5 separate regions of the Homo sapiens genome follow, and regions 2, 3, 4 and 5 are each linked to region 1. The links are contacts of gene promoters, found by promoter capture Hi-C in blood cells and fetal thymus (Javierre and others, 2016). All regions are on one chromosome and are shown on one strand. The core of a region is centred on a gene start or on the middle of the fragment in contact, and the rest is flanking DNA. Distances in the headings are between cores, read along the strand shown. Region 1 holds the start of THEM5 (thioesterase superfamily member 5). Region 2 has its middle 19 kb from the start of CGN. Region 3 overlaps TUFT1 (tuftelin 1). Region 4 overlaps CGN (cingulin). Region 5 overlaps TUFT1 (tuftelin 1).

Region 1 (3,182 bases), core at 666-3,165:
AGCTCTATCATTAGGATCCATTAGGATCATTAGGTGTTTCAGGAGTGCTGCTCCAGACCCCGCACAGCAGGGATGATGTGCAGGGCCTCAGTGGAAGGGGTGTGGGGTCCAAGGGCTTTCATGGGGTTGGGGCGGAAGGCTTGGGATGAGGCTTGATAGTTAGGGAGGGGCAGTCAGTGAGAAGTCGGGGCAGGAGCTGGGCTGGCTGTCCTCCAGTGGGGACATGCTTGGCTGGGAGCGAAGGTGGGCCCACCAGGGTGTGCTGCTTCAGATGGGAGGAGGGGAGCTGGAGACCTGAGAGGACACCCGCCGCCTGTTGCCTGGGGCTGCAGCATCAGGGGTGGAGTTGGACAGCAGGAAGAACTCGCTGAGAACTGGAAGGCGGTCTGTGAAGTTGCTTCTCAGTCTTAGAACACAGGGAAGGGCGGCTGGGGTGTGTGTACTCATGGTCCTGTCCTTACCTGAGGAAACTGCCAGTCCAGATGGGAGCTTGAGTCCCCGGATGTGGTCTCTGTTGGACTTGAAGGAGGGCAGCTTGATCCAGCCGCTAGACTTAGTCTTCTCCAGAAATTCTTGGTACAGGCTCAGCATGTCCGAACACCAGCTGGCATTGGGAAGAGCATAATCCTTCAAGTCTGTCTTCTCTGGCAAGAATCTTGAGAACTGGGCAGGAAAAATCAGAATGACTAGACAGCATCCTGGAGGGGGGCTGCTGCCTGGGCTCGGGACCTCTAAACAGCTGTTCCTGGGTGCTGGGGCTTCTCAATCCCTTCTGCCAGAGTATCGATCCAAGGGAAAGGGCCCATATTCCTTGCAGGGGGGCTGCGGACCCCTATGGGTGACGGGGCATAAGGATGCTAAAGAGCAAGGGAAGGGCGGGCAGGGAGTGGGGCCAGAGATGATGGGCATGCTGCTCGATGTGGTGCCTTACCCTTGTTCTGCTTAAAACATGTGAGCAGTTCTTTAAAGTTGACAACTGCTCATATTAGCCTCACTGTACAGATGGGGAAACTGAGGGAATACGGCCAAGGTTGCCAAGCATGTGACTGTGAGAGCTGGTGGTCGCACTAGATGCTGTCTCCTCTGCAGGGCAGGGTCACAGTTGTTGAGGACCATTCTAGCAACCCCCACCTCAGGGGCTACTCCAGCTCTGCCCACTGCTGTGGGCCTGCCTGGGCAGGGTGGCTCCTTTGAAACACATTTGGGCCCCCACAGAGGTGTGGTGCCATGGCTGGGGCACAGACTATGTGCCCATCTGTGTGACGTAAGGAAGTCCTCTGTAGCGTCACCTGCTCATACACCAGTCACAACTGTAGACAGCATGTGAGCTGCTTGCCAATGCCACAGATGGGGTCCTCTGTCTGGGGATACCCCAGCTTTGCTGCAGTAGTCTGAGTCCCACAGGAGGAAAGTCATTTGTTGGTGGCCACACAAGACACAGAGCCAGATGCAGGTCTCCTGGTAGTTTTAGTTTTGAATGGGGGCAACTTGGTATCCCAGAGCACTTTCTCTTTGCCAAATCAAATAGCTCCTCCGAACACTGCCCACCTGCCCTGGCCATGGGCTGGGAAGAGGAGATTTGGGGTGCTCCTTAAGCCCTAGGCTCCTGGGAAAACACTGCCCATCTGGCTGAGCTGGGAACTCACCATGGAGTCTGTGGAGGATCCAAATGCTGAGGCAGGGTTGAGTCTGGGCAGGATACGGGGGGCCTCAAGAAGGCCTCTGTGGTGGCCAAGTCTTGCTGCCACCTGGAAGCATCTCCTTATCATGGCCAAGTGCAAGGATCCAGCCCTGCTTGGATGGAGGGTCTTGGCTGACTCCCAAGGAGTGCTTTCAGCTGCACTTGGGGCCGCTTCTCTCCCTTCTGTTGCAGGCTTTCTTTCAGAGAGCTAGGCGAGGCTGGGCTGGTGTGCTGCAACACCCACAGATGCTCGGCGCCTTTAGCTGGTCTAGGAGCCCCACCCAGTGCTTGGGGAGGGACAGATGCTGCTTGGGCATGAAAAGGCAGCAGGACTGGCTTGAGTTGCAAAAGGAGTAAACAAGTACATAAACAAATAGTATGGGGTATATAGAGCCTTGGAGAGCTGCCTGGGGGTTCTGAGGGAGAATCCAAGAATATTTCCAGAAGGATAAGGGAAGCCTGTCCCTTGATTGGAGGGTGCTGGTGGAGTGTTCTTGGTATGTGCTCTGCAGTGTATACCGGACTCTGAAAACTCTGGTATGATTTTGTGACTCAGAAAACCAACTCACAGGCCGGGTGCGGTGGCTCACGCCTGTAATCCCAGCACTTTGGGAGGCCGAGGCGGCGGATTACGAGGTTAGGAGATCGAGACCATCCTGGCTAACACGGTGAAACCCCGTCTCTACTAAAAAAAATACAAAAAATTAGCCGGGCGTGGTGGCGGGTGCCGGTAGTCCCAGCTACGCAGGGGGCTGAGGCAGGAGAATGGCGTGAACCTGGGAGGTGGAGCTTGCAGTGAGCTGAGATCTAGCCACCGCACTCCAGCCTGGGCGACTGAGCGAGACTCCGTCTCAAAAAAATAAAAATAAAAAAATAAAAAAAAAGAAAACCAACTCACAGCCTTAGACACCTCTTTTTTTTTTTTTTTTTTTTTTTTGGTGAGACGGAGTTTCAATCTTGTCGCCCAGGCTGGTGTGCAATGGCGTGATCTCGGCTCACTGCAACCTCCGCCTCCTGGGTTCAAGTGATTCTCCTGCCTCAGCCTCCTGAGTAGCTGGGATTACAGACACACACCACCACACCCAGCTAAATTTTGTATATTTTTTTTAGTAGAGATGGGGTTTTGCCATGTTAGCCAGGCTGGTCTTGAACTCCTGACCTCAGGTGACCTCCCAAAGTGCTGGGATTACAGGCGTGAGCCACCGCACCCGGCCAACACCTCTTCTTATATCCCGGACAAGGGTTAGCACAGGAGAGTTTCACCTGCTGGTCTCTGGCTGGGGATAGGAGTTGGAGGTGGGGGAGGGCTTGACAGGGAGGGCAGAAAATAATTTGGGAGGAAACAGCTTGGCAGGGATACTCTCATGTTTTGGGAACCCCGTGCCCAGGGAGTGGCTCATGTCAGCAGGCAGTGCTGGGAGTGAGGTGGGCGCGGCAGTGAGGCTTTGTTGAGTGGGAAGGGACACTCAGCCAACATCTGCAAGGCAGTGGGATTTGGTGG
Region 2 (3,103 bases), core at 251-2,750, 360 kb before region 1:
TTTATCATCGTCATCCCACGTCAATTCACTGACTAATGGGAGCAAAACTCTATCTGAGCTAACCATGCACAGTATACAGAATCAGCAAATATTAATAGTTAAGTGTAGATATGTGAAGTCTATGTGGCCACAGCTCCTGGCTCATATCTCTCAATGCCCCTGTTACAGTCTTTTTTTTTTTCTTTTTCTTTTTCTTTTTTTTTTTTTTTTTGAGATGGAGTTTCACTTTTGTTGCCCAGGCTGGAGTGCAATGACGCAATCTTGGCTCACTGCAACCTCCGCCTCCTGGGTTCAAGTGATTCTCCTGCCTCAGCCTCCCAAGTAGCTGGGATTACAGACATACGTCACCACGCCCGGCTAATTTTGTATTTTTAGTAGAGACGGGGTTTCTCCATGTTGGTCAGGCTGGTCTTGAACTCCCGACCTCAGGTGATCCACCTGCCTTGGCCTCCCAAAGTGCTGGGATTACAGGCGTGAGCCACCGTGCCCGGCCTACAGTCTTTTGTTATAATGTTAGGACACTTTAGGATTCAGAGGCCGGCCTCAGAAAGCAGACTTTCTTGCTATCTGACTTTCTCCCGCTCTTATTTATTTATTCATTTATTTATGTTTTGAGATAATGTCTCACTCTGTTGCCCAGGTTGAAGTGCATTGGTGTAATCACTGCTCACTGCAGCTTTGATCTCCTGTACTCAATCAATCCTCCCACCTCAGGCTCCTGAGTAGCTGGGACTACAAGTGTGCACCACCATGTCCGGCTAATTTTTTATTTTTTGTAGAGACACTCTCCCTATGTTGCCCAGGCTGGTCTTAAACTCATGAGCTCAAGCAATCCACCTGCTTCGGCCTTCCAAAGTGTGGGAATTACAGGCATGAGCCACCACACCGGGCCTTCCTGTTCTCATTGCACCTGCCAGATGCAGGACTCTAATCTGATTGTGAGTCATAAGACCCTGATTGCAGAGAGGGTCCTACCCCGTAGCCTGGAGGAAGGAAGGCTGCATAGAGAGACCAAGAAGAATCTAACAGACATGCATCTCTCCATTCACATCCTCTGTCATATCCTTTCTAATAAGCTGGTAAACGAAGTGTCTCCCTTAGTTCTGTGAGCTGCTCTAGCAAATGAATTGAGTCCAAAGAGGGGGCTGTAGGAGCCCCAACTTGAATCTGCTGGGTCAGAAATTCTGGAGTCTTGGGTTTTGACTGGTGTCTGAATGGGGTGGGTGGGGGCAGTTTTGGGGTTTGAGCCCTCAACCTGTGGCCTCTTGGTAGATGGTGTCAGAATCGAATTAGAGGACACCCAGCTGGTGTCTGCTGCAGAACTGATTGCTTGTTTGCTGGTGGGGAGAAATCCTCCATATTTGGTCACAGGAGTCTTCTGTCTGTGTTGATTGTTACTGTTGAGTGAGATAACAGGAACAAACACTCTGAGTTTGTGTGTTTTCCCACACACAAGATCCCTATCTCCATTCTCCCTCCTGCTTCAGTCTTCCTTCTCTGAGGTTCTCAGATGCCCTCCCACCTCCTATATCCCCTCCAGTGTCCTGCACTTTCCTTCTTTGCCCTCTGACTTGAACCTAACAATGGTAAGTTTTCTTTGAAGTCTGATGCTACTTTCTAGCCTTGCTTGCCAAAGGTTGAGATTACCCCCACCTATGGCCATAAACTTGTTTTGTATCTATTAATTTATTTAAATTTCTTTCCTATTTAGGGTAGCTGGCAGGTATTATTAGTACCGAGTCTCCAGTGCAACTCTAAGCAAGAAGTTGCTCCTTCTAATACTGGGGACTGCAGGCCGGGCGCGGTGGCTCACGCCTGTAATCCCAACACTTTGGGAGGCCAAGGCGGGCAGATCACAAGGTCAGGAGAATGAGACCATCCTGCTAACACGGTGAAACCCCGTCTCTACTAAAAATACAAAAAATTAGCCAGGCGTGGTGGTGGGTGCCTGTAGTCCCAGCTACTCAGGAGGCTGAGGCAGGAGGATGGTGTGAACCCGGGAGGTGGAGCTTGCAGTGAGCCGAGATCACGCCACTGCACTCCAGCCTGGGCAACAGAGTGAGACTGCGTCTCAAAAATATATATATATATTGGGGGCTGCAAAAAGTAAAGACAGGGAATTTGAGAAGGAGTGCTGGTATACGGGGGAAGTTACTTTGCTTGGTTTGTCTGTGTCCTAAGTAGAGATGAGACGTACAAGTGCAAAAGTTCTGGAGAAAGTTAAATACTGATTCAGTACATGGATGAGAGGTCGGTGTTTAAAATGGAGATTTGAAAGTTGTCTGCTTTTGGAGGTGGCAGGAGAAAGCATGAGAGTGAATGAGCCACTGAAGGGGAAGAGTGGAGGGCAGAGGAAAGGAAAGAGCTTTTTCACAGCTATGGGGAATAGCTGAGAAAGGAAAAAAGTACCCACAGGGACAGGGGAGGGCTAGAGCTGTAGAAAATAATAGAGCAGTGGTATAGAAATCCAAGGAGAAAAGAGTGTGAAAAAATAGGGAGCAGAAGCACAAGAGACATCCGGTAGAAGGAGGACTCAGAAAAGCCTTCAGTTTCCAAGCTCAACTGCAGGTGAGGGACAAGGGAACTTGGAATTACTGCATATAAACTGCTTGAAGATGGTGAATAGAAAGGAAAGAAATATGGCCAGGTGCGGTGACTCACACCTGTAATTCCGGCACTTTGGGAGGCTGAGGCGGGCAGATCTCCTGAGGTCAGGAGTTCAAGACCAGCCTGGACAACATGATGAAACATCATCTCTACCAAAAATACAAAAGTTAGCCGGGTGTGATGGCACACACCTGTAGTCCCAGCTACTTGGGAGGCTGAGGTAGGAGAATCTCTTGAACCCAGGAGGTGGGCCAAGATTGCGCCACTGCACTCCAGCCTGGGCGACGGAGCAAGACTCTGTCTCAAAAAAAAAAAAAAAAAAAAAAAAAAAAAGCAGAGCAGCTACAAGTTACAAGTTGCAAAAGGGTTAGGATAAGGATAAGATTCTTCTCTACACCTTTTTGAGGGCAGAAGGTAACTCAGATGTTACTTCCAGAAGGTGGAATTAAGATGTTGGCCTTTAGTTTCCTCACTCAGTAGGAAGTAAGCTCATGAA
Region 3 (3,155 bases), core at 318-2,817, 270 kb before region 1:
CTGGCAGTGGTGCTGGGCTGTGAAGGAGGAGGAGGCATTCATACAGATGGAGCCTTTTCCAGGGCTAGATTACGTAACGAGTTGCCTTCCTAGTCTAATTTCCACTTTGCCACAGGGCCCTACCTGTCTGTTGACTACCTGAAGATCACTTTGCGAACGCTCTGTGAAGATCCCCTGTAGTGAGGGAGAAAAATGGGAGAAAGGGTTATCTTTAGAGAGTTTGCAGTCTATAGTCAGAGATAAAATGTGTATTTTTAAAAAGACCAAAGAATGCTTTATAGAATAGCGTATCAACAAAGGCAAGTGAGTATCTCAACTGAGGACAAAAAATTATATATAGGGGCCAGGTGCAGTGGCTCATGCCTGTAATCCCAGCACTTAGGGAGGTTGAGGCGGTAGGATTGCTCGAGGCCAGGAGTTCAAGACCTAGGCAACATAGTGAGACTTTGTCTCTGAAAAAGAAAAAATTTTTTTAATTAACCAGATGTGGTGGCATGCATCTGTAGTCCAGTTACTTGGGAGACTTAAAGGAGAGGATCACTTGAACCCAGGAGGTCGAGGCTGCAGTGAGCTATAATCACGCCACTGCACTCCAGCCTGGGCAACAGAGTGAGACCCTATCTCAAAAAAAAAAAAAAAAAAAAAAGAACTGTATGTAGAGGACATATAGGAAACCATCAGTCTGTCAGTGTTGTACAGAGTTATGGAGGAGCAGGTATTGGAGGATAAGCGCAATCTATGGTAATGAAGATGAGGCAAGTGGGTATCCAGGTGGTGGCACGCATGGTGGGGGTAGAGGCAACAGCAGCATAAACACAGGCAGAGAGACCAGAATGCACTAGCTGAACGTGGCACCCGGGAAGCCAGAAAAAGGCCAACTCTAACCCCTAAGCTTGTGTTACAGAATTTAGAGATGCATGACCGGATGGAACACCTGATAGAAAAACAAATCAGTCATGGCAACTTCAGCACCCAGGCCCGGGCCAAGACAGAGAACCCGGGCAGGTGAGTGAGCGTGTGTAGATAGAATGGGGCCAGGGAGGAGGGGAGAAGGAGGGACAGAGCTCTGTAGAACCTTTAGTGCTAAGGCAAGAACAAGGCTCCTTTAAATCCAACTTTCCTCCCTCAGTCTGACCCACTGTTTGCCGGAACCATTTTCTAGCCCAATTAGAGTAGAACCTGTTAACACAAGCCCAGGGAGGTCCATGAATGGCTTCTAGAGATGTATGAACCACCTGAAATGGTAGGAAAAATTTAGTTATAATGTTTGCATATTTCTAGGGAGAGGGTATTTTGCCTCTAAGAGATTCAGAAAAGGACCCATGATCTTGACAAAATCGAGAATCACAGCTATATCCACTTCTCAGTTGTTTAACTGCCCCTCTCTTTTCTTCACCCTTGCTACAAGACACATGTATCATGCCCCAAATCTTCCCCTAGTTGTCACTGATAATTACTGTTTTAAAGCACTTGGAACCCAAGTGATCAGCCAGCACTGCAGTGTAAGATTCCAGAGGCCAATGTGAAGATTCCAGGGGCTCTGTGAAGGGTGGGCCACAACACAGCTGTTCCCAGCACAACTCAGTGTTTCCAACCTTCTTTTCAGTATTAGGATATCCAAGCCGCCTAGCCCGAAGCCCATGCCTGTCATCCGAGTGGTGGAAACCTGAGCTGCCTGGAGATGGTTGCTGCCATTGCTGCTGCCTCTGCCTCGGAGAAGCCCACTGCCCCTGTTGGCTGTTAACACTGCCTTTGACTTCCTGACTGTCCCCTGGCTGCACCCAGGACTTCGGGCTCCTGTGTCTCACCATTCCCAAGCCCCTGGCCACTCTAAGCTGGGCAGACGGAGCACGAGCACCTATTCAAGGCACTGCAGCCCTTTGGAAGACATTGTCCTGCAAGCAGGAGCCAGGGCAATATCTATATTCCTACAGTGACTATTTTTCTCTGTAGAGAGCCTCCCTTCTGTTGTAGACTGGACTCTGGCTGTGCCATAAGCCAGGCCTTCATCAGATTGGGAGAGGTGACAAGATTTGCCTCAGCCCTAAAAGCTGGAGACACAGATGTCCAGAGTGATTGGAGAATGTCCTGGGGGAATGAAGTTCCTTCCACAAACACAGCTCAGTTCTTAGCAACAAACTGTTTGTTTTTCTACTTGCTCCATCTGCAGCCTACGCTGCCCTGGCCTCCTGCAGACAGATAGTGGGGTTACCTGGCAAGGCCTGGTGAGAGCCAGTGAACCTAAGCTTTGACTGGGTGGCCTTGTCTTTCTGGGGAGGAGGGAATGTACATTCAGGGAGTAGCCTTTTGCGGAAAAATTCTCTAGGGCTACAGACAGTCATGTGTGACTTCTCTCTGCTGTGAAAACTCCCAGAGTCTCTTTAGGGATTTTCCCTAAGGTGTACCACCAGGCACACCTCAGTCTTCTTGACCCAGAGCCTGAAAACTGTTTTCACTGGGTTCCACCAGTCCCAGCAAAATCCTCTTTGTATTTATTTTGCTAAGTTATTGGTGGTTTTGCTTACATCTCATGATTGATATAATACCAAAGTTCTATAGCCTTCTCTTGCAGTATTTGGATTTGCTTGAAACCGGGAAAACTGTTCCCATTAGGCTTGTTAATGTCAGAGTGACACTATTATGAATCTTTCTCTCCCTTTCCTCTGCCTGTTTCTTCTCTCTTTCTCCTTCAAACTTGCTCTGCAGCTAAGGAAGGTGAGTCTACTTTCCCTGAGGCTTTGGGGTCAGAGTATATGTTGTTTGGAGAAAGAGGGCAATCAGGACTCTTCTGGGACCCAGATGAGTTCTTCACTAGCCCTTCTGAACCCCTTGCTCCATAATTGGTCTTTTATCCTGGCTCTGAATGACCCTGCAGGTCATCATGGTTTTCTTTTTTTATTGTTTTTTTTTTTTTCTGAGACAGAGTCTCACTCTGTCACCCAGGCTGGAGTGCAGTGGCGCGATCTCAGCTCACTGCAACCTCTGCCTCCCGGATTTAAGCGATTCTTCTGCCTCAGCCTCCCGAGTAGCTGGGACTACAGGTGTGCCACCACGCCTGGCTGATTTTTGTATTTTTAGTAGAGATGGGGTTTCACCATACTGGCTAGGCTGGTCTCGAATTCCTGACCTCAGGTGATCCACCCACCTCGGCTTCC
Region 4 (2,797 bases), core at 121-2,620, 320 kb before region 1:
GAATGACGTCACTCTCCCTCATTCTTTGAATCTGCCCTGGATCCTGCCCAGTCTAATGGTGGAGCTCATGGCTGAGAGGAGTCCTTGGGGACAGTAGGGGGCCAAGTTAGGATTCCCTTAGAAATGGGGACACTCATAGACATTCTTCTACCTCACCTTAGGGAGAAGACAGTTCTGCAGTCTACCAATCGAAAACTGGAGCGGAAAGTTAAAGAACTATCCATCCAGATTGAAGACGAGCGGCAGCATGTCAATGACCAGAAAGACCAGGTGAGGACATGGCACCCTGGAGCCAAGCAACCTGGGGCAGGTATATATTATATGTTTTCCTGAAAGCCAAGGGAGGCCCTTATCTCCTATAGGTCCTCCAAACTTAGACTTTCCTTGTATAAGGACAGAGATTAGATTGAAAAGACTAGACTAGAGAAGTCATGGTAAGCGTATATATTGAGTGCTTATGATGTGCTAGGTTCTGTAAGTATTACACATGTGTTAATACATTTAATCCCTAAGACAACCATGTGAGGTTAAGGAACTTGCCCAAGGCCACATTTTTCCAGCGGCAATTATACCTTGTCAAGATTGTTATGGGGGAGGGTCCCAGGCCATGGTAGTAGATGCTATTCAGATGTGTGGACTTGGTATCCTGCCCAGCTAAGCCTGAGGGTGAAGGCTTTGAAGCGTCAGGTGGATGAAGCAGAAGAGGAAATTGAGCGACTGGACGGCCTGAGGAAGAAGGCCCAGCGTGAGGTGGAGGAGCAGCATGAGGTCAATGAACAGCTCCAGGCCCGGATCAAGTCTCTGGAGAAGGACTCCTGGTATGGGCTACCCTTTTGCCCTTGCTCCATAGGGACACTAGAGCAGGGAGGGAATGGTCTCTCCTGTGCTGGATAAGGAGGAGAATCTCTAACATGGTACTGTGTAGTCACTTGTTTCTGGTTGGAAGCCAGTATATTTATTTATTAGTATCTCAGCCACCATCCTGTACCTCCCCAAATCTGATTAGTTGGGGATTTTGTGAATAAACTTTAGGCCTTAGAAGAATTGGGGTTTCCTTTGTACAAAAAGGGTGGCTGTCTTAATATTTCTATTTTCCCCTCCCCAACCATTATTCTTCTCTCTGAGTCAGGCGCAAAGCTTCCCGCTCAGCTGCTGAGTCAGCTCTCAAAAACGAAGGGCTGAGCTCAGATGAGGAATTCGACAGTGTCTACGATCCCTCGTCCATTGCATCACTGCTTACGGAGAGCAACCTACAGACCAGCTCCTGTTAGCTCGTGGTCCTCAAGGACTCAGAAACCAGGCTCGAGGCCTATCCCAGCAAGTGCTGCTCTGCTCTGCCCACCCTGGGTTCTGCATTCCTATGGGTGACCCAATTATTCAGACCTAAGACAGGGAGGGGTCAGAGTGATGGTGATAAAAAAAAAAAATCATCAGCAATAAGCTGATAGATGGACTTTCCACTGTAGGAGTGGACATTTCAAGCCAACTGAGCCTTTTCCTCAAGTGCCGACACCTCCCTCATCTCTCTTATAGTGGAAGGATGGTCAGCATTAGGCTGATGGGGACTGAGAAGGATAGGAAGGGATAGAAATTGCCATGTGTATAAAGCTTTATTCTTTAGCCCTTAACCCTAAGGCTCAGGGAAATACCCTATGTTATTGTGCTCCCTGGATTCCTGCAACTCATTTTCCTTCCACTCTGGAGCAGGGTGAGGGGAATGTTATGGGTAACAGACATGCAGGCATGGCTCTACCCATTTCTTTGCACAAGTATGGGGCCCATGTGGTAGTCCCCATACCCCTCCAGTTCCTATATTTTTGTCTTCTTCCTTTCCCCTCTTTGCCATTCCTACCTTGCATTTTTCCTGTCAGTGCCTTAGCCAAGGCAAGGAGATAAGGATGCTCTTCTTGCTTTTTATATCTGCACATTCATACCTCTCCAAAGACCAGCTTTTCCCCAGCCAGGGCCCTCAGCCTTCCCTGCTGCCCCAGTGATTGATTGAGAGAGCTGTTGGGGTTTCTCTGCCAATGACCCCTGGGAGAGGGACTTTGGTAGGGTCATGATAAAGTGGCGGGGGTCTGGTCCTGCTCAGGGTTTTCATCCTTCCTCCTCTCCCTCCTCTGTGACTGTGGATATGGTTATAAGGTGGTTGCACCTGGGAGCCCTGACAACTGGCTGCACAAATTCCAAAAGTAAAGGTGTCAGTCCCTGTGGCCTTCCTTGGGGCTTCTCTGACCACATGTGCCCAACTTCAATAAGAGAACCAAGGGACCCTCATTTTCTGAGGTGCTTGGCTCTGATTCAGGGCTTTGCAAGGGGTTAGAAGCTGACTGTAAAAATGGGAAGAGGCAACGGAAGACATTTATTTCTCCTTTGGATTTTGGGGAGAACCAAGCCCTGGTAGGGAAGAGGTAAGGGGGATGATTCACCTCCATATTTCCTAAGCAGGTTGTATAGGGAGCCGGTGGCAGGAGGAAGGCTGTTTTCACAAATGACTTGTAATGTCGTGATTAAAAAAATTCCTATATTCTTCTGCAAATCAAACGTTCTTTCCCAATCCAATCCAGCCTTGGTTTTATTTTAAATTAAATATTAAAATTACACATTTATATTGAAATCCTTGGTTTGTCTTCTCATTCTTTTTCTTGGCATATTTGGAGGTCCAGATTTTATGAAGTCATATTAACTGTACAGCTTAGGAGCCGAAGCTGGAGTTTTCTTCACCTGACTTTTCAGAGGCCCTTTAGAACAGAGCAGATGGGACCTACGAAACCTGGAGATGTTTATAGCAGCCCCA
Region 5 (3,145 bases), core at 528-3,027, 290 kb before region 1:
GCCAGGTAATCTTTGTTGTGAAAGAAAAAACTGTTGGGTGGTCCCAGAGTCACCACCCCAAACACCTGATCTTGGGCAAGGTAATGCTGCCTCCCTGGACTTCAGTTTTCCTAGTCTGTGAAGTGGTGATGATAAGACCCGCTCCACAGAGCTGGCAGAAGCACCCCTGTACTGGTAGCAGTTTGTACCTGTAGACTGTAAAGTTGAGGGGTTATTGTTGCTGTCATTGTCATTATTAGGGCAGCGTGGACATTCTCAGGCTGACTCTCCAGGGTGAACTGACAGGAGATGAACTTGAACACATAGCCCAGAAGGTACTGCGGAATTCTGGTGGGCAAGGCCCCCTCCCCACACCAGTGCTTCCTTGCTGCTGGCCTCTTACCCAAGTACTGCCTGGAGCCGACTCTGGTGATGCGAGCGTGGGAGCCCCTCCTTTCAGCAACATCCAGCTTGCCTCAGCCTTCTGCACTGCTTTGGGGCAGGAGGAGTCCCCCACTAAAATTAAAACTAAACTGCTACTTCTGTCCATTCTCCCTGGCCGGTGTTCTTGCTGCTGTGTGGCTTCTGTTAGAAGTTCGGAAACGAATTTTTGGAGAGGAAAGTCAGACTAATCCTTCAAGTCTTTTGAGAAACAGGTCTTCTGCATTAGCTGAGGGGCAGGAGTTCTGGGCTTGCCATGTGGTGTCTGAGCCATCTCTCTCTCTCTCTCTCTCTCTCATCTCTCTTTGGCCAGGCGGGCAGGAAGACCTATGCCATGGTGTCCAGCCACTCAGCTGGTCATTCTCTGGCTTCAGAACTGGTGGAGTCCCATGATGGACATGAGGAGATCATTAAGGTAAGCTTAGTTCACCTCCAACTTTTCTCCCTGTCCTCTTCCTCCCTGCACGTATATGAGAAGGAGCAGTTGATGTTGTTGCCAAAGGGAGCTTGTGGTTTGATGGAAGGAACCAGACCTGAGCTGCTAGTTCCTGGCAATCTCCTAGAAATATCTTAATTAATACCAGGAGACTACAGTCTGCCTGTTAGCAACTTTGGTGCAGCCTGGCCCCAGGCAAGGGGATGGACTGGATGACCTTACTAGGGGCCTATCCACTGACCATGTTTTGCTGCTAGAGGTTGTGGAGACAGGTAGGAGGTGTGTTTATGGAACTTATGTTTTCCTATAATGGGTTCATCCTGATGGAACTTATTTATTTATTTATATATTTTTAGTTTTGTAGAGACAGTCTCGCCTTGTTCCCTGGGCTGGTCTCCAAATCCTGGGCTCGAGCAATCGTCCTGTCTCAGCCTCCCAAAATGCTGGTATTATAGGCGTGCACCAGCCCACCTGGCTGATGGAACTTATTTTTTAAAAAATAAAATGATTTTTGTTATTTCTCTCTCTCTTTTTTTTTATAAAACAGCTTTTTTAGATATAAATCCCATACCACATGATTGACTCAGTTACAGTTTTGGTCAGTGCATAACAAAACTGCATAACAACGTTTTGGTCAGTGATGGACTGCGTAGACAACAGTGGTCCCATAAGATTATTATACTCCATTTTTACTGTATTTTTTCTGGGTTTAGATACATTACCATTGTGTGACGATCACCTACAGTATTCAGTACAGTAACATGCTGTGCAGGTTTGTTTGTAGCCTAGGAGCAATAGGGTACACCATACAGCCTAGGGGTGTAGGAGGCCATGCCATCTAGGTTTGTGTGTGTACACTCTGTGATGTTTGTACAAGGATGAAATTGCCTAATGATGCATCCCTCAGAATGTATTCCTATGATTAAGTGATGCATGACTGTATATATGTGAGTGTTTATGCCAATACAGCTATATAGCATTGAGCTAAATTTATTGCATTAGGGTAAATTTCCAGAAGTAGAACTGATAGACCAAAAAGTAAATATATTTTTAGGTCTTCTGATCCGAATCACCAAATTCCACCCAGTAAATTGGTGGTAACAATTTACCCTCCCACCAGCACTATATGAAGCTGCCTATTTTTGTATAGTTAATTTAATTTGAGGTTTCTTAACTAAATGGTGTTCTTATTTCAGGTGTACTTGAAGGGGAGGTCTGGAGACAAGATGATTCACGAGAAGAATATTAACCAGCTGAAGAGTGAGGTCCAGTACATCCAGGAGGTGGGCACCCCTTACCTCTCACGCAGTGCCTAGGTCATTTCTCTAAATCTCACATTTTTTGTGACTGTCTTCTTTTGTGGATTCTGGTTTTTCCCCTTCTTTTTCCTTTATGTCTCTGAAATGCCACCATGCCCTCCCGTGTGTCAAATATATAACTTTTGACCATACCTGATCCATTAATCCACAAATACTTAAGTACTATGGGCCCAGCACTGTCCCAGCCACCTATCGAAAATTACCAGCCACTTTTCACAGCATTTCTTAACTCCCTTCCTGGCTCGTGTTTCTCGTTGGCACTTATGCCCATATAACATATTACACATTTTACTTATTTGTCTTTTGTGTCTTGTGTCTCCCCAACAAGAATGTCAGCTGTAGCTCCACTTGACCAAGGTCCCTCCCTCCATCCTGCAGCCAGTCGTTAGGACAGTGCCTGACTCGCAGTACAGGCCAGGGATGGGGCACAGAGTTGGGTGAGTTGGCATGCTCTCTTTCTCTACCCTAAAGCTCAAGTTTCTTCCCCTCCCCTCCCAGGCCAGGAACTGCCTACAGAAGCTCCGGGAGGATATAAGTAGCAAGCTTGACAGGAACCTAGGAGATTCTCTCCATCGACAGGAGATACAGGTAATAGGAAATGGTCCATGGTTGGGTCCCCACCGAGGAGGTGGGGTTGTGCCAGGCAGTCTCATTTACCAATTACCCAGTGTGTGCTAAATCTAGCATCCCTGCCAGGAATGGAGAAAATAGAGGTGATGCTGGCTTCTCTGGAGCACTCACAATCTGGTTAGGACTCTCCAGCCGATGAGCACTTACATTTACACATGTCAGCTTAAACATAAGTACACCTGCTCCTGAAACACTGTACAGAAATTGAACTTATATAAATTAAATATCATCAGTTGTTAGCAAACCTCTTATCTATAAGGATTCTGTGATCAAGCTTCTTATAATAATAGAATTTTGTAAAGCAGACAATCACCTGTAAATCCACACTTCTCATAAGCTG

What was found. Contacts are between HindIII fragments. The CHiCAGO score rates a contact against its expected background, and 5 or more counts as called.
Region 2: a contact is called between a fragment that was not itself captured here and the fragment with the promoter of THEM5 in region 1, in 6 of 17 cell types (M2 macrophages, M1 macrophages, M0 macrophages and 3 more). The highest score is 11.7, in M2 macrophages.
Region 3: a fragment that was not itself captured here is called in contact with the fragment with the promoter of THEM5 in region 1 in 13 of 17 cell types (M2 macrophages, naive CD8 T cells, activated CD4 T cells and 10 more); the score reaches 14.4 in M2 macrophages.
Region 4: a fragment that was not itself captured here is called in contact with the fragment with the promoter of THEM5 in region 1 in 10 of 17 cell types (M0 macrophages, M2 macrophages, M1 macrophages and 7 more); the score reaches 13.2 in M0 macrophages.
Region 5: a contact is called between a fragment that was not itself captured here and the fragment with the promoter of THEM5 in region 1, in 14 of 17 cell types (M2 macrophages, total CD4 T cells, naive CD8 T cells and 11 more). The highest score is 9.8, in M2 macrophages.

What each region holds. Positions count from the first base shown.
Region 1 is chr1:151,851,797-151,854,978 of GRCh38, forward strand. It overlaps THEM5 (thioesterase superfamily member 5), which reads right to left and starts at 1,916. Exons shown (of 6, transcript NM_182578.4): 1 at 1,647-1,916; 2 at 462-663. The coding sequence starts at 1,769. The HindIII fragment of the contact is 9,012 bases long and covers 1-3,182 here.
Region 2 is chr1:151,490,924-151,494,026 of GRCh38, forward strand. No RefSeq gene overlaps it. Among named protein-coding and RNA genes, the nearest start is that of CGN, 19 kb to the right of the region's middle. The HindIII fragment of the contact is 6,284 bases long and covers 1-3,103 here.
Region 3 is chr1:151,580,038-151,583,192 of GRCh38, forward strand. It overlaps TUFT1 (tuftelin 1), which reads left to right. Exons shown (of 13, transcript NM_020127.3): 12 at 905-1,005; 13 at 1,607-3,155. The coding sequence ends at 1,670. Among named protein-coding and RNA genes, the nearest start is that of SNX27, 30 kb to the right of the region's middle. The HindIII fragment of the contact is 1,354 bases long and covers 891-2,244 here.
Region 4 is chr1:151,536,076-151,538,872 of GRCh38, forward strand. CGN (cingulin) reads left to right here. Exons shown (of 21, transcript NM_020770.3): 19 at 162-270; 20 at 655-818; 21 at 1,130-2,617. The coding sequence ends at 1,271. Among named protein-coding and RNA genes, the nearest start is that of TUFT1, 2.8 kb to the right of the region's middle. The HindIII fragment of the contact is 471 bases long and covers 1,136-1,606 here.
Region 5 is chr1:151,561,852-151,564,996 of GRCh38, forward strand. TUFT1 (tuftelin 1) reads left to right here. Exons shown (of 13, transcript NM_020127.3): 2 at 240-314; 3 at 734-835; 4 at 2,053-2,139; 5 at 2,674-2,763. Among named protein-coding and RNA genes, the nearest start is that of MIR554, 18 kb to the left of the region's middle. The HindIII fragment of the contact is 1,878 bases long and covers 839-2,716 here.